Linked DNA regions of Homo sapiens: region 1 is linked to region 2. Evidence: promoter capture Hi-C in 16 types of primary human blood cells and fetal thymus (Javierre and others, 2016). All regions are on one chromosome and are shown on one strand. Each heading gives the region's core, a stretch centred on a gene start or on the middle of the fragment in contact. The rest is flanking DNA. Distances are from core to core; before and after follow the strand shown. Region 1 overlaps LINC02832 (long intergenic non-protein coding RNA 2832). Region 2 holds the start of EPHA4 (EPH receptor A4).

Region 1 (3,439 bases), core at 186-2,685, 1.8 Mb before region 2:
TAAATTGAATCAAGCACCTTTTTGACCACTACCTCAGAGTTTGCTCGGTCATGTTGTTCCTATAAAATGTTGATTTTAGTTCTTTGATTTGAGCTATTTCTGCCCTAGGCCAGAATTCAACAATGCTGGATTTTCCCACTATGCAGATGGATTTTAAAAACACAATTCTTTAAGAAAAACAATGCTCCCGTAGCACCATCTACCTCTCAGTGGTAGCACTCATCACTATTGTAATTTTATATTTAAAATTGTGGATGGTTGATTGATGTCTGGCATGATATTATAAGCTCCAGAAGGACCAGAAGGAAATCTGACTTTATTAGAGTTGTCTCCCTAATGCCCGGCGCAGTGCATGGCATACAGCAGGTGCTTAATATTAATCAAATGAGAGAAATGACTTAGGCCTTTGTAGTGACTTACTTAACTGATGGTTGTCTATCGAATGCTAATATGAATGATTACACCTGTAAGGTCACCTTTTTCTAAGAAATACATATGGTTTCAGGAATATGTTTCTTCCATCTTTACTGTTTCTTGTCATTAATATTAGATACAATTACTTGAATTTTTAGGGTCTTATGTTAATTTTTTAAAAACTCGATGCATACTGGCATTTAAATAAATATGAACATTTAGAATTGATTAATTTCTTAATTCATTGTCTACTTTTTTAATAAAACAAAAGGAAGCAAAAACATTGCCTTCAAGGAAGAATACATCTCCTTGATATTCTGAGGAAAGAATGAATACGTTTATGATATTAGAGGAAAAAGCAAGGGAGTGAAGAGGTCATGGCAAGTGCTGGGAATGAGTCCTGTTTGACCTGTTTTCACTCCTATTCTTTTCTCCTCCCCACCCACCCCAGTTTAGGCCCAGGCAGGAACCCAACCAATAAACGTTAAATCTACTCTTTCCCCTTTCTCTGTCCTCTCTGCCCAATTTCCAAAAAGGTGTTGACGATGAAATAGTCTGTTGTGTCATCAGGCTGAGGGAAGTGGGAAGGAAGCGTGCACTAGCTTAAGCAAAGCATCTGACAAAGATACAATTCTTTTATTATGTAGGACATATAAACAGGTATTTAAAGAAACACTCTATTTAAGTTGATTTATTAAATTTTTTTGGTAAAGATAGAGCATGGGTTCCATTACAGTGGATACTGATGTCTTTTATAGTCATGACTCCCAAAGGACATACGGTTTCCCAAAAGTGTAATCCAGCTTCTATAACTCTGAATGATATTCCAAGTCTGCTTTCCTGTGTGTCCCCTCTTCACTCCCTCCCTTGATGAGCCTAATTACACACACAGAAGAATTACATGTGCACCAGCATCACACAATTAAAAAGCTAGATTTAAAAGGATCTTGCCCAGCTTTTCTATGGAAAACTTGAAATTAGGTATTTTGCTTTAAACTTGGCAAAGCTAAAGACCAAAGTGATGTCTAGAATCAGGGAAAGTCTGACTAATAACTGAATGCTGTTGGAGGGCCAGTGGCACAACACATGTTTTTTGCTCGTCAAAAGGCGATGAAAGACACGCAAAGGAGTGAAATCAAGCAATGTAATGAGAACGACAAAGAAGTGATTTTGTTCTGAGCATTGCTGAGTTTTAAAGCGATGTAATGTATTTCCCATTCTTCATAAAACATTCAATTGTAAAATGTAGAGATTGTTTGAAAGTGTTTTTAATATTTTAATTCCTAAAATGTGGATTTATCCAACGAATACTTGTAGACCTTAATGAGACATTTGGGGGCTGGACTTTCATTTATTCTAAGTAGTTCTCATATTTAAAAAGCAGTTGCAGATTCTTCATTTCATTAGTGAAATATCAAAAAAGAAAAAGGAAAATAAAGCAAATTATTCAGTTCCAAATGAAAGCATTTCTTCATTTTTTTCTAGAGAATGATTATTAAACACTATAAAACCTAGTCGAATCTCATTTCTACACATCATTAAAGAGTTCATGTGCCAAACAAACAATGACCTTTTGTTGATGAGATTGTAGAAATTATTAGTGGGGAAAAATGATCATTTGTTCCTGGAGGACATTGTTACATTTCTACCTCCTCCCACTTTATTCACTTTTTTCTTCACAGAGTTGGAGAAAATAATGAGATACAAACTCATTTCCCCAGCAGAGGTCACCCTTTCTCCTTTATCGTTCCCAATAAATGCCTTCTTAGTTGTGGTTCCTTAGTCCAAGGAAATGCAGGAGTTTTCAGCTTGAAGCACAGCCAGAGGGCTGGTGGAAACATATGCATCATTCACACCCTCTGTGTCTTCTTACGTATGCACTGTTTAAACGTATTACCCTACCTGGACTCTTAAATGGATAACTCACATACATATAATAAGAACCACTAGGTTATGTATTGATAATCCTATCTTTTAGTTAATCCACTTCATCAAGCATTAGTTTAATGCTTGCCAGTGCTGGCTCAAATTCTACCCAATTCTCTGCCCCATGGGCCAAAAAATAGGTTTTCATAACACCCTGGAAGTGACTGGCATAAGCCTTTAGAGAGAATCCCCTGGTGAATTTCTGCAGGGGAGAAAGACAAAAATGTATGGAACATTGGCCAAGTGGAGAGCTCAGGGCTGGGTACTGAAGGGTAAGCTAGGGAGGTATAAGCCCCAGTCTCAGCTTTTGCATTTGGTTTGGTTTTGGAAACAAAAATGTATGTTTGTATTTTATTTGAGACACACTGGATCACAGAATGAAGTTCTAAATGAATTATACGTGAGTGTGCAGAGTATAGGTCAGTCAAGAGGTGTCATCTACAGAAGGTCAGGGGTAGATGGGTGATGGAATTGCTCGGGTCCTGTTGCTATCTGCTGGGGAAAAGCATTCAGCACGTGTCTGGCCAAATCCAAACATGGATTTTGGAAACTCCTTTTCTCTTCCTCACTTTATGGAGGAAACCATTGGCATTTTCTTGGGGTCCCTGGGGAAGTGGGGCTCATTGGTTTTACAATGGTTAGTGAAGATCTTTTCTAAATAAAATTCCCTTCCTTCCCTTTGTTTTCTTTATTCTGTAAACTAAAGTTCTTGTGGACATGTTGGAAGTTTAAGACTGCGGTGGATTTGGGGTATTCTCTGTGGCTGCTGCTCTTCCCTTGGACTGCAGATGGCACAATCACAGTGTGCAGGGGATAAGGTAGTGCATCCCAAAGAACAGAAATGTGCTTCTCCCTTCCAGGAAGTGGGACAGCTGGATGACCATGACATTGGACCTCCAGTAGTGCTCGTGAAGCGATGCATCTTGGAAAGGAGGATCTGCCTGCGTTCCTGACATCACCCTTGGGATTTCTCCTCTGCTCTCCAGGCCTCTGGCTCTCCCTGCTGGTTCTGTGCTGGGTCACCTGCCACTGCTCAGCCTGCATGCCCTGCAGAAGTTGGCTGGAGCCAGCTGGTGGTGACTTGCCAGAGACTCTGGTT
Region 2 (3,894 bases), core at 905-3,404:
AGGGTAAAAGAGAGAAAAGGAAACGTGATGGGAATAGAAAGCAACAAAGTGAATTAATTTTTAAGGGGGAGGTGGGGGAGGGGAGGGGAACAGACCTCCCTCCCTCCCCTTCAACATTAGCCTAGGGCTCTCAGAGCCTTTTTGTCTTGGGCTCCCAAGTTTTTCTCCCCCCCCCCCAAAAAAAGAGGGGGTTTAAAAAAAAGAAAGAAAACAGTCTCTACATCTGGGGCGAGAGAGGTCTCAGGGGACGTCCTAACAAGTGTGTGAAGTGGCCAGGAGAACGCGGGATCCACGATTCCTCTCAGGGGAATGAATAACCCTAGGGACCGAGGGGCGGCGACGGCCGAGATGGCACCAGAACCACCAGAAGCCACGTCGGAAGGAGATGGGAGATCCAGAGGGCGAGAGAGGGCCCCTTTCCTCCCAAGCGATGTCTGTGGGCAGGTGTATAAATCTCTCAGAGCCTCCGTCTGGAGGGCTCCGGGTACCGGCTGCCCAGCCAAGGCTAAGTTGGTTTTTGGCTCCCTCCTTCGGAACAGAGAAAACGATAGATTACACAGGGATGGATGGACGGATGTCTGGAGAGATGGAAAGATGAATGGATGGATGGATGGGTGGATGGATGGATAGATGAATGGGTGGATGGATGGAGGGATGGATGGACGGACGGACGGACAGATATATGGATGGATGCATTATGGATGGATGCATGGACGGACGGACGGATGCACGGAGAGATGGATGGATGCATGGATGGATAGATAGACGGATGGACGGACGGATAGATAGATGGATGCCGGAAAGGAGAAGAATGAGAGACGGATGTGAGACTAGATGCACGCAGGCCAGAGCACCAGCATACGCTGGAACAGAGCACGAGCATACACTCGAACACACGCGCACACACTCAGGACATCTGCGCACAGACATACAATCCTCCGCGTCCGCTTCCACGCAGGCATTCGCGCACCTACATACACGCAGTTGCACGCGCGCGCACACACACAGGCACACACACGCAGACATGCACACACACGCAGACATGCACACACACCACACATGCAGACATGCACACACACGCAGACATGCACACACACACCACACATACACACACACACACACACAGTTCGCCTCTCCCTGGGTTTCTCAGAAACTAAATGATCACCGCCCCCCCGCCCCGCCCCACCTCCCGACACAGACACACAGGCACATACAATCCTCCCAGCACGTCCGAACGGATGCACAGAAAACTGAGCACCCAGACGGGTCCCGTCGACCCCGCACGTTAGCTCTAAACTGTGTGCAATTCTGGGGCGAAAAGCTAAAACTCGACTGCGTTCAACTTGCCGGCGGGTTCCCCAAGTCTGCGGGGCGAAGAGCTCGGGCCCCTCAGGCCCGCAATCGCACCCTCGGGGCGCTGGGCTTGGCGAGGAGAAAGGTGTCTGACTCCGGGTGCTAGAAATCAGGTCACTGGCGCCTGACGAGCGGCGCCACGACCGCTGCGCTGCGGAGCAGGCCCCGCAGCCCGGTCCCGAGAAGCGCAGGGCTCGGGAAACTTTGCAGAAACCAGAGCTCGAAAGGCTTTCGCTAGAATCCGGGAGCACCAAGCCTTCACTGTGCTCCAGGCTGCGTTTTCCCCTCGCCCCGGGCTGGCTCAGGAGAGGACGTGGTTCTTGTAATTTTTTTTTTAAATCCCGGCGTTGTCTCCCGTGCATCCCCTCAGGGCGCCTCGAGCGGGCCTCTCTGGCGGATGCTGATAAACTTTGGCCTTTGGTTACAAACTTGGACAGACCCGCCGCGTGCACGGGTCACCGCCTCGGGGCAGGCTGTCCGGCGGTTCCCCGCTGCCCCTTCGCCGATCCCCTCGCCTCAGCCCCCTTCTCCCGAATCGGGACGCACCATTCACACTGGGCTCCCCCCGCACCACCTGGCCCTGCGCTCCTGAGGACCCCTCACCCGCGATGGCCCCTCGCTGTCCCCGACCACAGAAAGGCCGTCCCGCTCTTACCTTCATTCGCGGGGTATACCCTGGAACCTGTGACAGCGTCGCAAATCCCGAAGAGACACGAAAATAGGGCGAAATAGAAAATCCCAGCCATGGTTCGCCGGTGCCAACGCTGCTCCTGCCGCTTCTATCCCAGTGGAATAAATGCTTAAGTTAGGAGAGCAGCGGGCTGAAGACATTGCCAAGGGGGCGGGCCCGGCCGGTGACGTGAGCCCGCCAGTCCGGGGCCCGCGGCCAATGGCGGCGCAGACAGGGCGGCCGAGCCCCGCCTTCACCGAGCAGGGCCCGCCCCAGGGTTCCGCCCCCTCCGGGCTCCACGGGGCGCGCGGTCTCCCGGGGCTCTAGGGGGCGAGCACGGCCGGTCCCCGCCCCCGCCTGCCGGAGGGAGCCAGCGGGATCCCCCACGTTACCTCGAAGGTCGAGCCCCTGGACGGCGGAGGGACTTTGGAAAAGCTCGGAATTGACCGAGGGGAGCCAGAGAAGAGGTTGGAAACCTTTTCTCCCACCACGGGCGGTTTAAGATGGAGGAAAACGCTCTTTTATTGAAATAAAAGAAGTCTAAGCTGACCTGCGGTTGCTTCTTTAGGAGAGTCGACGTGTCTGCGTCCAGCGCGCCCGGGCTGAGCTGCAGACTCGCGCCTGCCACCGCCACCCTCTGCCACCTTGCCCTGTTTTGTCTTTATGGCGCTTCCCCCTCTGAAATACTCTTTGCGGGGAGTTTTGTGGCTCTATCACTCGCTTCTTCCCTGGCTCCCCAGATGCCTGGAGAGCGGGGACCTACTTGGTCCCCAACGTCCAGTCCGCAGCAGGGCTCCGTCACTGTCTCCAGAGACTGAACGAATGACTTTCTAGCAGTAAGGAAGTCCCCGCTGGCCCCGTCCCCCTGCACACGCCGTGGACCTCGCCCAGGGCCCAGGACGCCCCGAGATGGCCTTGGGCAGGGAACCAGTTGTGGATTTCCCGGGGGCAGGGTTGGGGGCAGTCCCTGGAACCGGGCCTAGCCCGTCTGGGAGCGGTGGGGTAGAAGTGAAAGGCTTAAGTGTGGGTGCGGGGACTTGCAGCCGCACAGACAAGGCAGACCGGGACTGGGAAGCTGCCCGGAGCGGCTGCTGCGACTCTCCGCTCCGACCTAGCCGGGGCAGCCCTCCCTGCCCCGGGAGAAGACGGCGAGCAGGAGGACCCGCAGAGCCCCGCCCGGCTGCTCCGGCCCCGGGGGCACTGGCACCATCGGGCTGTGGTCTTTTCCCGATGCCCGAGCCGTGGACGCGGCCACCTAAGAGCGGTCCGGCGAAGGCAGCGCAGCCGGTGTCCCAGGGACCGGTCCCCAACGCCACTCGGTGCATTTCCCCAGGCGCTGGCAGGGGCACTGATTCCTAGCAATGAGGCCTCCCTTCCCCTTCCCAGGCCGCCCCTCCTCTGACTCCCTCCAGAGCAGGGCCGAGTTTTCCTGGGGAGCCTGGGTCCCGGCGGCCGGGCGGCCGCTGGGAGGTGGAGGAGCCTCTCCAGCCCCGGCCGCAGCTCATCGTGAGCCAACCGCGCCACCTGCCGGCCAGATGCGGGAGTGTGCGGCCCCGGAGGAAGGGCGAGCGGACAAAGACCGCAACCCGCAATCCGCAACCCCGCAGAGAGGTGGTGCGTGCGTTTGGGCGAGCTTTTCAGCCACCGCCAAGTCTCGTGCACTAGGGCTACTCCTACCGTGGGGCTGCGGACAGCGCTCAAGAGGTCCTGGAGTCTGTCGTGACTCTCGCCTGCTGGATTTCAAAAGATGGAATCGGAAAGCGTTTCAAGGAGAAACTCCTAACAAACCTTCCGGGGGTTGCCTGAGTGGCTGCTCTCGGAAAAGCGGATCCTAAATAAAGCGGGAGGGTTATAGGGCGACGTCGAGGAGA

What was found. The method cuts DNA at HindIII sites, captures the fragments that hold promoters and counts their contacts. A CHiCAGO score of 5 or more calls a contact.
Region 1: a contact is called between a fragment that was not itself captured here and the fragment with the promoter of EPHA4 in region 2, in 1 of 17 cell types (M2 macrophages). The highest score is 6.3, in M2 macrophages.

Annotation. Positions count from the first base shown.
Region 1 is chr2:219,734,254-219,737,692 of GRCh38, forward strand. It overlaps LINC02832 (long intergenic non-protein coding RNA 2832), which reads left to right. Exons shown (of 2, transcript NR_185880.1): 2 at 3,201-3,439. Among named protein-coding and RNA genes, the nearest start is that of LINC02832, 6.0 kb to the left of the region's middle. The HindIII fragment of the contact is 4,545 bases long and covers 1-3,439 here.
Region 2 is chr2:221,570,150-221,574,043 of GRCh38, forward strand. EPHA4 (EPH receptor A4) reads right to left here and starts at 2,155. Exons shown (of 18, transcript NM_004438.5): 1 at 2,009-2,155. The coding sequence starts at 2,099. RefSeq lists silencers at 2,111-2,530, 3,131-3,410, 3,461-3,620. The HindIII fragment of the contact is 12,678 bases long and covers 1-3,894 here.